Linked DNA regions of Homo sapiens: region 2 is linked to region 1. The links are contacts of gene promoters, found by promoter capture Hi-C in blood cells and fetal thymus (Javierre and others, 2016). All regions are on one chromosome and are shown on one strand. Each heading gives the region's core, a stretch centred on a gene start or on the middle of the fragment in contact. The rest is flanking DNA. Distances are from core to core; before and after follow the strand shown.

Region 1 (7,782 bases), core at 2,011-4,510:
AGACCAAAATGATTTGAGAACCTCTGACCTAGACTATGGTTGAATGACATTTTGGGTAATAATCTTGAATATCAAGAGCACAAAAGAAATGGGCAGAAATGGATACTGTCCTACTTATTTCTTAAAGCTCTGAGAAAATTCAGTTGTTGAATACGCATGTATTAAGCACTTTACGCTTAAACACTAATTCCATAGATAGGAATACAAAAGAACTATAGGAAAGGGTCCTTATCCTCTATGTATTAACAGATATGATTTGTGTACATGTTAACATAAAATATTTAACAATGCAATAAAGCACTCTGTATGTTCAGGTGCCAAAATCAATAGTCTAGGCAATACACACTGCAGAGTTCAAAGGGAGGAGAGACAGGATGACCTGGAGTTGTTAGGGAAATGGGGAGAAGTAGATGGGTCAGATATGGCAAGGCAGGGAAGAGGAAGTTGGAAAAGTAGGGCCAGGTTGTGAAGGTTCTTGGACAGCAGGGTACAAATTCTAGTCTTTATGTTCTATTTAATTGGGAGTCACTGGAGGTTTTTGAGCACAAATTCAGAGTGTTAAAGGTGTGGGCATTTGTACGAGAGAGAAGAAAGAGGAGTACCAGTAAGTAAGCTGCTGGGGATGTTGTAGTAATGGAGGATTGAGGTTAAGAGGACCTAAACTAAAGTGGGATGAAAAAGGAGAGATTAAGTAGATACTTTAAGAGAAGACTTAACAGAATTTGTAGTCAGGTTCCAAAAAAGAACCTCAGGCTTCTGACAGCCCTAACAGATGGGCAACTTAAAAGTGTTAGCCAAAGTTTGAATATAGGTCCACATAAAAGAGAGAAAGGACAAAATTCATCCCTCCTGAGACGTAGTCTTTACTCTTCTCTGCCAAACCATGCACATTACTGTCTTCATCTTGATGCATTTAACATTTATTGAATAGTTACTATAAGCCAGGTGCTCCAAGCTACCAGGATGAACATAGTGTCCACCCTCAAGGAGCTTAATTACAGGCCAGTCAGGTAGACAGACAAGGTGACTAACAGTTCACAAAGCATGACAAGTGCTGTAGTGGAGCAATGCATACAATACAGAAAGGGTACAGAAGAGGAATGCATCTCCACCTAGCAGGCAAGGGCATCAGGGAAAGTTTCTAAGAAAAGCTGAAGGTTGAGTTAACTCTTGAAGGATGGACAGGAGTTAACCAGGCAAAAGAGCTAAGAAGGTCACTCTAGGCAGAGGAAGAAGCATGGAGACTTTGAGAGGCAACCATCTCTGGGAGAACTAATTTTGGTCACTTTATGTGGATGGTGAGAAGGATAGGTGTAGGGATGAAGCAAGAAATACAATGAGAGATGTGCTTAGGGGCCAGTAAGCAACATAAATACCATGACAAGAACAATGGACTTTATCCTGAAGGCAAAGGGGAACTACTGAAGAGTTAAAATAGGTTTCCTATACAATCAGATTTGCATTGTAGTAAAATCACTCCAAAAAGAGATGAACTGGAACTGAAGAGCCTAGAAGTGAAGATATCAACAGCAGGTTTCTCTAAGAGTCCCAATGAGGTACTGACTGAGGTTTGACTTTGAAGCTGAAGTCTGGGGAAAGGTGTTAAGAGGTAGAACTGTCAGGATCTCGTGATTGTTTGGATATGAGTGTGGCACAAAGGGGTCGAAGATGACTCCCAAATAGGACTGGCTATATAATTTGTGGGGCCCAGGGGGAAAAGAAAATGTGGGGCTCACTGTTTAAATCTCAAGCCCAGGACAGCAGAACATTAAACCAAGTGCAGGTCCTTCTCAGCTCCCTTAAAATGGCCTTGGTCCTAAGTTTCTGGCTAGGTTAAACAAGTGAATGGATGGTTGTAGCCTTTTTAATAGTAAGTATGACAGAGTCCAGTTTTGAACATTTTTGAGTTTGAGGTGCCTATGGAAAATTCAGTTAAGTTCAGGGCTGGAGACGTAATGCGTAAATTTGAAGTGGAGACTGAGTAACGGATCAGACTGCCCCACTTATGTGTAAAGCAAAAATAGAACCAGATGGAAAAACAATCATCTGAAACAGAAGCTGATAACTTAGGCGGGAAATGAGGAAAGCCAAGGCACAATTTAAATACCAACTCCAAGAAGTTTTGTCTCCTTTCAGTTTCACTCATTCCTCTATGTTTTATTTTACTGTTACAAATCTGCAGCCTGCCTATTGTCTTTAGCTGATTTTTTCTGCATGTATTTGGCTGTATGACTTTAAGCTCCTTGAAGAGAGATTTTACGTCTTTTATCTTCAGAATGAGCCCTCCAGTGACATATATCTAATAGGTCTCTAAAAAGTTAATTATCTAAGAAAATCGTTCCAAAGGTCAAAACTTGACTCATTTTTTTCAACAATGTTTTAGAATGAGACTTTTTAAAGAGAAACTACTATAATTGTTCAAAGGAAAAGTAAGTTAGGTAAGGGGGAAAGTTACTGAAAATTATCTGTATTACAATAAATCACCCTAGCGATTACGTGTATGTATATATTAACACACACACATATGCATGTACATGTATGCATACGTATAACTAGATTTTGGGGGGATGAGGAGCCTTTTAAACCATTCTAAGTTACAAGTTTACAATGCAGGTCAGGAAATCTTGGATAAATCATTTTTAAAAGTGAACAGGAGATAGTTTTAGACTGGTGACTAAATCTTCAAAAACCAAAGCGTGAGGGGAAATCTGGGATGTCTGCATATTGGAGATGGCAGAAACAAAAAACAAAGATGGCAAGCTGACACCGGGGCAACAGCTGACCCGTTTCTTGTAAGAGGAGCCTTCTCGCTGGGGCTGCGGTTATTTTTATCCAAATCTCTGCTGGCGGCTGAACGGGGTACGTCCCTGGCACGTCCCAGCGCAGGCTTCCAGGCTGGCTCGACCGCCTCCCAGGCTCTCCGGAAGGAGACCCCTCCTCACCCCCTCCGAGGATCAGCCAGGCCGGGCCGAGCCCGAGGCCGCCCCTGGCTCCTGGTCCCTAGCTTGTGCCAGCATCCTCGGCGGGGCACAGCTCCTCCCGCCCCGCCCCGCCCCGATCGGCCCCGCCGAACCCAGACCCTGCGGCCCGCGCCCCCCGCACCCCCGGCCAGGGCTCCCGCGGGCCCAGCCGGCAGGACGCGGCCTCCCCCGCTCCTCCAGCCCGCGGCCGCGGCGGTACTCACAGACCTGTTCTGCAGCCGCCGCCGCCGCTGCCGCCATCTTCCCGCGCCCGCCGCCGCCGAGCTCCCCGCCCGACTGTGCCCGCCCCTCCGCGACCGCACCCTGCGCGCCTGCGCTTGCGCCCTGGCGGGGACTGGGGGCACCCGCTGCTCACACCCTCCCCTCCCCAGCCCGCATCCCTGACGACCCGCATCCCAGCCCTGCGGGCTCAGGCTCTGCGGCGGCCCCTGCACCTAGGACCTTGGCCTGGGGCGCGTTGTATTGCACAGGGGCCAGAAGGGGCCTATGGGGATTCCGCTCCACCCCGGGCCGCCTGCAGATTCCTCAGAAAGGGCACCCTCAAAAATCGAGGACGCTTCTCCCCTTCCCCTTTGTTCCCCATCGCTGAAAGATCGGTGCCATCCGGAGCTGTGAGGCTCTCTTTGTTTCTCGGACCAAGGTCTCCTTGGCTAGGGTGGGAGGGGCCGATATCGAGACCACAAGTGGACGCGGACCGGCGTGGTGACTGCGTGGGCAGAAGTGAACGAGTGGTCACTTAGGTGGCTGGAGTCTTGAAGACTGAGAGTCCTCAAGGAGGACGTTGAATCCTTCGGGCTGCTTGACTTCGGAGGCCTATGAAGTCTGATGTTTTTATCCTGCGATACTGGGGATGGATTTTTCATTTAGTGTTGGAGATAGTGTTACCATGTATATCCTCGGGAACCTAATTGAACGGACATTTACTGAACACCGGGAAGCCACTCAAATGTACGAGTTACTTGAGTAGACATTCATTGTTCCCTGTTGTAGATATAATCCAATAATTATTTTAGCTGAAAAAAAATGCAGTGAAGTCAATAGCAACTGTTCCTCATGTAGCTGAATCACTTCTAATAAGCACCTTTGGGCCCTAGTACTGTCTAATTCAGTGGGAGTCAGTACCTAGCTGGTCATCAGTCTCTCTGCATTTCTTTTTTCCTAAATGCTGGAACCACTTGACTCATATCTCTAGACTCACTCCTCTCTGAGTCTGTGGGACAAACATGCATTTTAGGCAGGAAAATTCTAAGTTAAAGCCCAATGATGCAGGAGTCAGCAGTAAGGCTCTGTGTTAATATTCTGCCTGTGGTCTCATTGATCAATTTGCACAACTGGGCTTTTAACTGATTCTGAGTTCCTATCTTCTAGTCCTTAATTCCTAAGCTTTGCGTTTTTCTCTCTGCTGGGAAAGTTCTTCTTCCCTGGCACGCGCACTCTTATTCATCCTTCAAGAACTATTCTATTCAAACGTCATATTTTCTCTAAAGGCTTCAGAGGCTCCCACAGATCTGTTCCTTAACTGTGTGCCTAGCCTTTTCTAGCACTTCAGATTGCATTGTATTTTTATCTTGTCTACCTGCTGATTTCATTCAAAAGATGGTGTGTTCTATCTGGAAGGTAGGTGTCTTACTCATCGTTTAATCTCCAATGTCTAGCACAGTAATTAAACTTAATAGATATCTTAGAAATCTGCCCAGTATCCCAATTTCTAAGCCCTGACTTGATTTTGCCAACCTCCCTCCCACTTAGGTGGTGAGATACCTGGTAGCCAATTTTCCTGAAACCAAATGCTCCTTTGGCTATTTGAATATCACCTTCTCTTGGATTCTTTCCTCATCGCTGATGTCCATCTCTGACAGGACATCCCACTATTCTTAATGCCAATTTCTATTCTCTTTTAAAGAGATCCAATTCACTCACATGACCACATTTTAATGTGGGTTATTTTCAAATGTACTATTGTCAGCCTTTTTTCCCCTGAAATAATGACATTTAAAGTCAACTCTGTGCCTGGCAATGCCTCTTTTACAAATGAAGAAATCAAGGCTTGTAGAGGTTAAATGGCTGACCATCTTTTCAACTCCTAAAGAGCCAGTATTGAATCTAGGTCCATCTGACTAGTCTTTGCTCTTTCTACCATACATCACAGCCTTTAATTTTGCTCTTTCTTTTGACTGTTGCATGATATTAGCATTTGGAAGCACAAAACACAGGTCCCCAGGGCTGGAGTATGAGTCAGATTATGAAGACACTTACACCTTTGTTCACTTTGCAGTGGTTTGAATAGTGCCCTGCAAAAAGGCATATCCAAGTCCTAACCTCCAGTATCTGTGAACGTGGTGTTACTTTGAAACAGAGTCTTTGCAGATTGCTATAGAATGAATGTTTGTGTCTCCCCTGAATATTTCACATGTGGAAATCTTAGCCCCCAGTGTGATGATATTAGGAGGTAGGGCCTTTAGAAGCTGACTTAGTCCACTTTGTGCTTCTATAACAGACCATCTGAGAGTGAAGAATTTATAAAGCACAAAAAATTATTTTCCCACAGTTCTGGAGGCTGAGAAGTCCAAGCAGGTTCAGTTGTCTGATGAGGGTCTGGTCTCTGTTTCCAGGATGTTACCTTGAACACCTTGTCATCCTGAGGGGAGGAATGCCAAGCCCCTATGACCTGAACAGCTCTCAAAAGGCAACACCACCCAATGCTGTTGCATTGGAGATTAAATTTCCGAACATGAATTTTTGGGGACACATTCACATCATAGAAGGAAATGATGGGTGATTAGCTATCACTATTCATGATTAGTTCTCATGAATAGGATTAGTGCCTTTATAAAATAGATCCAAGAGAATTGGTTTGTTTCTTCCACCATGTGAGGACACAGTGACATCTATGAATCAGGAAACAGGCCTTCACCAGACACTAAATCTCTAAGCATGTTGATCTTGGATGTCCCAACCTCCAAAACTGTGAGAAATAAAGCTCTGTTGTTTATAAGCCACCTAGTCCATATTCTGTTATAGCAGCCCAAATGAACTAAGACAGATGTTTTTAAGGATCTTGAGATCACTCTGAATTTAGGATGAGCCCTTATCCTTATAAGAGGACAGAATGGCAACATACACTAAGATGATATGAACATAGAAGCAGAGATTGGAGTGATCACTCTACTAGGCAAGGAATACCAATAATTGCCAACCGCTACCAGAAGCTAAGAAAGAGGGATGGAGCAGATATACGCTTAGAGCCTCCAGAAGGCTCTGATTTCTTACTTCTAACCTCTGGAACTGTAAGACAACAAATTTCTGTTGTTTAAAGCCACCAAGTTTGTGTGTTACAAATACACACTTCAAGTTCAACACATGAAAAATTTGAACTCAAAACCTTTCTTCCCAATCTGGTCCTCCTGTGTTCCCTTAGTGAATGATATCACCATCTAGTCAGACACCTCAAAGTAGTTCTATACTATTTCTGGAATGATCTTTCTAAAATACAAATCTGATCATGTCACTCCTCACCCTCAAGCTTACCATACTCCAATACCTTTCATGATAAAATTTAAGCTCCTTATATTTGGTCCTTCACCAAATTTTGGTCCTTCACCAAAAGGTTAGAAACTTTTGGTCCTTCTGCCCCTTTCTAGCCTTGTTTCCTGCCTGTCCCACACACACATCCAACGTGACTACAGAGGAGTCAGGGAATCAGAGACAAAGTAATCTATCCCTTTATCCCTGTGCAATATTTGCAGCCCCCATCTGCTTGCCCGAACTCAAGTTCTTAATGGCTCTGTTCCTTTGCATATGTGGCTCTTTCTCCTTTTAATCTAGCTGTCTCTACTTGTCCACTAAAACTCAGATCAAGGGATATCTTTTCTGAAAAGCCTTTCTTAAACCTTCTCCCAATCATACATTTCTGATTTGTGTGGACCTCTCTGTGATCCCCAAGCATGCTGCTATTGTCACATCACACTATACTGAAATTTATTTATTTGTCCATCTGTTTTAGTTATCTGTGAATTCATGCCTCTCCAGATTCTTCCCATTTTTCAGAACCAACCTCAGTCCTACCTCCTCCTGACAATCACAGCCAGTCCTTATTCCTCTTTCCTTTTAACTATTATTGCACTAATTTGCTGTAACACCCATTTGATACTTAGTGCAGTATCTTGTTACTTTACTTTTCATGCATATACAGTTTGCTTCTGATTAGACTGAGTTCCTTACAAAGCAGAGGTAATGTGTTATTATTTTCCATGTTGCTCTAAGTCCTGAACACATTAAGAACCAAGTATATAATACATACTTAATAGCTCTGATGAATATTAAATTAATTTTTTCTATTGGGTAAAAAATATTACTAGCATCTAAGTATCTCTGACATCGGTATCTAATGCTCACCATACCATACCCCAGAGAAGGCCACTAGACTAACCCTCATCTCTGTGTCTTCTAAGTGCTCTTTCAAGGGTCCAGTTCTGCCCCTTCCATACTTAACCTCTGTGACCTCCAATGTGATATAAAAGAGACCCAATCATACAGTTTTTCTATTTACAGCCCTTTGCTGCCTCCCCACTGCCTATGAAATAAAGATCAATTCCTTTAGCCTGATACATAAGACCCATCATAGTTGAAACCAGGACTATCTTTGCAGTCTTGTCTCTGATTCCCTGACTACTCTGTAGTCACATTGGACTACTATTTGTCATTTTCTGCCCCTCCATTCAATTTCATGCCTCTTTGCTATGATTCTTCCTGTTTCAAGTTGCTCTTCTCTTCCTGGTGAACGTCTCTCCATCCTTCCAAA
Region 2 (7,782 bases), core at 1,406-3,905, 190 kb before region 1:
GAGAATATGAAATGGGGGTGAGGAGCTAGTCGGGGAGGAAGGGGAGGTGGGGCGGAGTTGGGCAGGAGGACTGTCACGTCCAGATTCGGTCCGGAGCCGGGCTAAGGGGGTGTCAGACTGTGCTTAGGGGAGGTACTTCCTCTCCCTGTCGAGGCAGGGTCCCTTGAAGGGGGGAGTCCAAGCTTCGGGGTGCGGAGAGAGGAGGGGGCGGGGCTGAGGTGGAGGAGACGGGGTAAGTGCCCTAAGGTTGGAACTGGCCGTGGTTCCCCCCGGACGGCGGGAAGCGAGGTCAGCGCTGGCGCGGGCTCCGGCAGCGGGACTAGGAGGCGGGGCAGGGGTGCGGGCTGCGGGGTTTCAGCAGCGGGAGCCGGAGGGGTCGGGCCCTGATGGCCGGGTCGGGGGCTTGGCGCCGGGGAGGTGTCGGGGTCCCTGGCAGTCCGTGGGTTTGATAGTCTGTGACGCAGTTGTCTAATTTCTGGCTATCAGGTGTGGGGGTTGGTGCCATGGAACCCGCTTCCTTAGAGGGATGGCCGGGCCCTAGGCCGCGCCCCACGCCCGGGGGGCGCGACTTCTCCCAGGCGTGCTGGGAGGGCGCTTGAGGGGTTTCCTTTAGGGTTTGTCTCCAGTCAACGGGTATGAAGGGGAAAGGCGGTCCCGCCGAATTCTGGGACTTGTAGTCGCGGCCGCGCCCGGCCGCGGTTGGGTTGGGTGCACGTGGGTAACTGTGGAAACGGGTCCCGGCATGCAGCGCGCCCTTGGAGCCTTCCTGCTCGGCCAACTCGTGCTTTATTCCCCGGCCAGCTCCTGCGCGCTCTCGGGAGGCGGTTGAGTTCCCAGGGACGGAGCGACTCCCCAGCCCTTCTCCCTTGGGAGAGGGAGAGCCCACGCCAGGCGCAGCCCTCTTCACGCTTAGGTTCTTGGTCCCCAAGTGAATTTCCCCCTGCATTTTGTGGCCTTACTTGTGGAATAAATGCTTGGTCTTGTACCATCATGCGCACGGGTTGTGGGAAAACATTTAAGAAGCAACACAATGTAAAGCAGCCTTTAGAATGGTGTATTTAATTTTGGCATCCAGTGTGTGTAAGCACTGGGTTCCAGCATTCCCTTGCATAAATATGAGAACACAGTGGAGGTACACGTAACCCTTGTAACGATAATATAAACTATGTGTTGGTATTTCTTGGGGTGTTTGAAAAAATAACTGTCTTGAAATGAGTGATGGAGGTGGGTTAGTGGAATTTAGGGTGGAAATGTGAAGGTGAGCAAAGGTAATATGTGACGTCTTCAATTTTCGAAGAAGCTTGGAAAGCAAATGAGAATAGAAGAAAACTGTAAAAAGTGGAGAACCATAAGACTTTTTTTGTTTGCTTGTTTTATTATTAGCTGCAGGCTGCAATTCCTTCTCTCCTTAATACTAGAAACCTTCCTCTCCATAAGTAGACTCCCTAAACGTCACATCCTTCACCAGTTCCCTTTACTGTTTACAGGGAAGGGACTCCAGAATCTGTAATGTAGAAGGCTAAGATTAATGCAGAGATGATAGATTTTTGTATGTAATATATAAGGTATTATGAAACTACTTGCAACATAGTCATTAGAAGAATATTGTAATTTTTCTGATGATAAAAATATTACCAAGAAGTCCTAAGATTTGTAAACCTTTTGGTGTGGTTACAAACATACTGAACTTGGATACTTGATTGTTTGATGGTTCTTTTCATGATGAGTGAAAAATTGGGCAATGTGTGTGGTGTTCTTGTGGAGATCATTTATATCTATCTGTCATATTTTACTTAATCGTGTGGTGAAATATCCAGGAAACTCTTGGTAATATAAAAATATGTACAAAAATGTGCACTTAACTCTGGAATTTTTTCTTGCAGAGGGTAAAGTGATGAGGTTGAAAAACATGCAAGAGCTATAATTGTCTTCAAAATGGTGTTTTTAAAGAAAATATGAAGCTAGTCATAGCTTTCTCTTTTTCTTTTGTTCTATTATATCCCAAAGGGCAGGTGCTTTTTATACACATATAGCCCACCTCCCTCCATTCCCCAAAGCCCTAGGCTCCTACACACTTTCTGCTCTGGTTTTTAGGTTCCTTTTTGATTTTTGGCGCTTGGGGAGGTCCTTTATTTTCTTGTGAACGTAGCTGTGCATTTAAACAGATGTTTCTTACACGTTATCCAGAATTTTTGACTGTTTTATATTAAGAAGGATTTTTAGGTAATCTTGTCTGTAACATTGCCAGAAAAGAAGGCCTGCCTCATTTTCTCTTAGTGGACTTCACTCTCTTCTTCCTCTGTTGTTAACTCTGTGTACCCCTACTGGCACTTAATCATGTTTTTTCAAACTTTATCATTGTCTCCTTTTCTGTTTTTATGTTAAGTTGCTCCCAGCAGCTCTTCTTGGCTTATTACCTTCTTCCTGGCTACGTTTACATTATTATCTCAATCATCATCTGCTAATTATAACTAATAATTAATAGCTAATAATCCTGCTAACTTAGCAGTATAAAAATCAACCTGTGAGAAACTGACCTCATGATGATCTCTTGTATCAGTTAGGATGCCTTTGCCAATACAATGCTCAAATTAATGGCTTAAATAATAGGGCTTATTATTGTTCGGTAGCAAGAAACCTAGAAGTAGTTGGTTCTAAAGCTGGTGCAGTGGCTTAATGATGTCATTAAGGATCTAGGTTCTGCATCTTTTTCTTCTTCTATTAGTGTTTTAGCTTTTATTCCTCAGGCTCATTTGCCTCATGTTTGCAGTATGGTTGCCGTAGCACCAGACATCATGCCTGGATTGGAAAGCAGGGAAGGAAGGTGCATATTTCCTTATAACTCCCTGTTAACAGAGAAGTCTTTTGCAGAAACTCACTTTGGAGAGTTCCATTTCAGTGTCATTGGATTGAACTGATCTCATGCCACTGCTAGCTGTGAGGAAGCCTGACACAGTGAATGTCTGGCATTTACCAGCATCTCTTGTAAGATATGGCCTTTCGTAGGGTGGAAGAAGGGTGAGAAGAATGCGCTGGGTTGGCAACTTGCAGGTTATATCCCTGAACCAGCTACTTTGGCCAGCTGTCTCTGGCTTGGTCTCAACCTTTACGTTGATTTATTTTCTGCCTTATTCTAAAAGAATTAGGGGTGACTTGCTAAATATAGATAAAACCCTGTCAAGAGAAGAAAAATTTATATATAGACTTGTAAGGTACACAGAAACACTTGCCATATGTTAGAAATATTTGGCACTGAGCTTTTTAATAGTCAAAGAAGAGAACAAAACTAATAAATTTTATTCATTTGGTAAATGAAGCTGCAGTAATTTTAATAACCCACACTGAAATCCTGGACATTTCTTATCCTCTTCTTCCCTGGTCAGTGGCAAGGAGAGATTGCATCTCTTCCCATGCCCAGCCTCTCTTTCCCATACCTATTGCCATGGCCTTATGTCTGAGACAGCCTTTCTTACAGTGTTATAATAACCAGCAATACATTTTTCTTTCTTTTTTGTTTTTTTTTTTTTAGAGGTTGGGTCTTGTTATGTTGCCTAGGCTGGACTCGAACTCTGGGCTTCAGGGGTCCTTCCACCTCAGTCTCTGAGTAGCTGAAGTTATAGATGCACGCCACTGCACCCGGCTCCAGCTGCCCTCAGTGCTGCTGTTTTAGAATTTTTCTTTACTGTGCTCCCTCTCTAGCAGACTCTCCTTTCATGGAATCTCTGAAGCAGTGCTTCCTTCTGTTACTCAGTTTTATGTTACATAACAATAGCTGCTTGTTTACTTTTATTTCCCCTCCCCAATTAGATTATTACCTTTTTGAGATCTGGGACCATGTCTTACCCAGTATCCACTTTAGCATCTAGCATGATGCCTTGCATAGCTACCCAAATATGTATTGAATTGAACTTAAATGATCAACTATTGAATAACTTGTGCATTATCTAGAAAAATTAATTCTTCCTGTTCCTGTTGTCTTTCATTATCTTTAGATTTTTCTTCAAGGAACACAAGCTTTCACCTACTCATTCTTTGCATTTTTTAGACAAAGTCAGTTGTATGCAAACTAATTTAATATTTTTCAAACATGCAGATATCAGTTTTAGAGAATGTGGCGTGGAGAAATTCTCAAGGAAAGAGTAAAATGCTGGTGATGTGCTGAGGGAACAGAAGGAGTGTTTGTGAATGTGCACACGTCCGTTTCTGGTCTCTCGTGTCAGCGTCCTACCTGCACAAGGTTAAGGCAGCATTAACAGGTCTGATGTTAAGGGGCCTAGAGTGTTTGTCCTTTTCCCTTCTTTTTGTTTTATATCCATATTCTGGTCCTAAGGATTTATTTCTTAAGTTAACAATATAGTGAGATCACTGAAAGTCTTTCTTCAGATTTACAGAGTAAAATTTTCTTTGATGAATCTGACATAAATGCTGGTAAATTTTTATAGTTGGTCAACTCGAATTGGTATTAATTCTTCTCATAGCTTGCTTTTTTTCTTTTGAAATTTACATTAGGAGAAGTACCTCTTGAGAAGTATTCTAAGCAGAACATGTATTTTAAAATGTGTTTTAAGAAGGAAAACATTGAAATGCATTCTAAATAGAATTAGGTATTTTAACAATCATTGTGTGACAGTTTTAGATGTAGCAAAGTATCTGCTACTTCAGGTTTGAATTGCTTTTAATCAGAAAATGCTGTTAATGAGTTATGTTCAATCTAGGAAGATAGGCTTGTCATTTGTAACTAATGTACTGAAAAAAACACTAGATATGAAAAAGACCCCTGCCCTCTTCAAATAGCATTACCTGTGGTATGATTTATTTTAGTTCTGCCTTCGAGGATTTTTTTTTCCTTGTGAAATTTTTTGCTGGCCTGTATCAGTAGATTTGCAGAGACGGGGAGTAATCCATTTGTGCTTCTCCCCCTGCCCCACGACCACAATTGTTGGCTTTTAACATATGTCATCTTAGGCCTCCTCCATATTAGTTTATGATTAGTGTCTGTAATGGACACTGTCAGTCCATTGACTCTTGGTCTGATTGGAGAATTCTTACCCTGGCAGGCAGATCTTCTCAGACACACTCGCCTGAGACTGTGAACCTGAGGCTGGAGGCAAGGAAAGAAGAGTAGCCCATGTGGCCATTTTCTGGGGGGATGCACAGTGGTGGCTGCTGTGCTGCTTCTAGAGGCAAGGTCTAGTTGTTGCTGCAATGATGATGCAGTCTGCTGTGTCCCCTTAGGCATTGTTATGGCCAGGGGGAGATTCTGTGAACTGTCTAATAGCCGCCTCCCCTTTTTTTAAATCACTTTTCTGTTTAAATTACCTAGAATTAGTTTCTGATGCTCTCAACTAAGAATTCTGATACTTCAGCATCCAGACTTGTCACTGTCGCTGGTCAGATACGTGGTAGAAGCCCTTGTGAAGAGCAGTGATGTATCTTTTTCATCCTGGCTGCCTGTACATTCTGGTCAGAGGTGACCCAGAGGACTGGAGGAGGACACAGTCGATATCAGCTGTGGGTCGTGGGAGCTGTGTTTGCTGGTGGTCAGGCAGGACTCCCGAACCACACACTAGCCCAGCCCACTGGGTCTCATCATGTGCCACTCTTTACTGCTGCTTTTTCCTAATTCTTTGTCCCCCAAAAGTTGGGATGCCTAGGAGCTAATACATAACTCCTTGTGCATTTTTTTTTTGGCTCTGATGTGGGAATATTAGCTACAGAAATATGTGTGTGTGTGCGTGCGTGTGTGTGTGTGCGTGTTTTAGTGGAATGTTTATTTTGTTTAGCCAAAAATTACATCTGATGTACCAAATACCTTTTTAGTCAACATTATTTAGGTATAATTTCACGTATTATAAAATTATACTCATTTTAAGTGTTGTTGGGTGAATTTACTAAAGATATAGAACATTTCATTACCCCAAAAGTTCCCTTGTGTCCCCTTGTAGTCAGTGCTTCTCCTCCTGCCCCACTACCACAATTGTTGGCTTTTAACATATGTTACCTTAGGCCTCCTCCATATTAGCTGATGATTTGTCACTTTGCTGTTCCTGAGGATATTACAGTATAATAAAGGCATGATAAATCTCTCGTTTTTACTGAACTATGAAATCCAAAGAAAAACTATCAGTGCTGTATAAATTATCAGTCTGATAAATAATACTTTGCCGCACAGAAGTGTCTTGAGTTAGATGACTTGTTCTGGTGAGCGGCTTTCCAGTGGATGGCTTTTCTGGCTTCTCTGTGGCCTGTAGACATGCAGGGCTCGGGTTTTCTCCCTGGATGTGATGATGTCTTTTAATTGTTATCTGGGTCAGGTTGGGAGGCAAGAAAGCCAAAATGGCTGAATTCAAATCCTTGCTCTGTCATCTCCTAGCCAAGGGACTGGAGTAGAGTTACCCAGCTGCTCTGTGTGCGCTTCAGAGCCCTCATGCCTAAAAATTGCCTGTTGAAGGCTGTTCAGTCACCAAGTGTTTATTGGGTATCTACTATGTACCAGGCCCTGCTCTTCATATTTCATGAAGTTTTCCTTTTAGTGTAGGGGAGGGGGCAGATAGTAACAAGTAAATTGTGTAATACGTCAGATGGTGATAGGTTCTGTAGAGAAAAACAGCAGGGAAGGGGTGCATGCAGGCACCCCTGTGTGCGGGCGTGGGGTGGGGTGGAGGGTGTTGTAATTTTAAATAGTGGAGCCAGGAAAGGCTTCACTAAGGAGGTTTTAAGCTAAGCCCTGATGGAGCTGAGGGGCCATTCCAGGCAGAGAGAATACAAATGCAGAAGCTCAGAGTGGGGAGCAGGCCTATATTTGAGGAACAGCAGAGGCTGGGGTGCTTAGAGTTGTGGGGGAGGGCAGAGGGAAGAAAGTAGGAGGCAAAAATCATAAGTGGTCCAAAGGATTAAATGAGATGAAACACGTAAAGTGTTTTTGATGCTTACAATTACTGTGTGATGACAGTCTCCTAGGTAGCCTTTAAAAAATCACTCTTGAGAAGAAAAGTTATAAGAAAGAACAGAACCAAATGAGGCATTCCCTCACTCAGCCATTCAGCAAACATTCAAGGGGATTTTTGCTGCCAGGTGCTGCTGTCACAGGCAGGACTGTGTGGGGGAGACCGGGGCTTCAGGAGCTTCCTTCAGTGAGTTCATTGTGGAGACAGAAGGAATGGATGCATGGGACGATGATGCCTGCTAGGTTAGATGGATGCCCCGGGGGCTTTGAGAACATGTGGGGAATGGTTAGCAGTTGTCATGTGAGTTTTAGCTTTTGAAGTTGGATTATGTGAAGAACAGGATGTGTATGCATGTGCAGGTGGCATATGGGGTCAGGTGGGAGCTTTCCAAGCCCAGCGACAACATGGCATGGTGGGGACAGAGAACTGTGGCAGGAGAGTGGGTGTTTGGTAGGCTAGAGTGGAGGGGAAGGTGAGGTGCAGGGCTAGGCAGGAGCTGGTGGCAGGGGTGGGGTGGGGTCGGTGGGAAGAACTCAAAAGAGGCACCAGGGAGAGTGTATGAGTGGAAAGGAACTGAGAGAAGGAAAGAGAAGTCCCAGGTGGGGCACAGGGAGGGAGGAGGAGCAAAGGGGAATGGGGAGGGACTAACACGAATTCAGTGATGATCTTGGATTTGCTTCAACTGCTTTGCCTGCATTAACTCATTTAATCCTCACAGCAACCCTCAATAAGTTAGGGACTGTTATTATCTCTGTTTCACAGATGAGGACGCTGAGGTGTAGAAAGGTTAACTCCCCTTCTCAAGGTCACACAGCTTATAAGTGGTGAATTGAGA

The links. The method cuts DNA at HindIII sites, captures the fragments that hold promoters and counts their contacts. A CHiCAGO score of 5 or more calls a contact.
Region 2: a contact is called between a fragment that was not itself captured here and the fragment with the promoter of SGCB in region 1, in 8 of 17 cell types (monocytes, naive CD4 T cells, non-activated CD4 T cells and 5 more). The highest score is 9.8, in monocytes.

The regions. Positions count from the first base shown.
Region 1 is chr4:52,035,039-52,042,820 of GRCh38, forward strand. It overlaps SGCB (sarcoglycan beta), which reads right to left and starts at 3,261. Exons shown (of 6, transcript NM_000232.5): 1 at 3,189-3,261. The coding sequence starts at 3,221. RefSeq lists an enhancer at 2,674-2,793 and a silencer at 3,034-3,473. The HindIII fragment of the contact is 11,224 bases long and covers 1-4,362 here.
Region 2 is chr4:51,844,112-51,851,893 of GRCh38, forward strand. All of the region lies in intron 1 of DCUN1D4 (defective in cullin neddylation 1 domain containing 4), which reads left to right. Among named protein-coding and RNA genes, the nearest start is that of DCUN1D4, 4.8 kb to the left of the region's middle. RefSeq lists a silencer at 150-269. The HindIII fragment of the contact is 2,714 bases long and covers 1,299-4,012 here.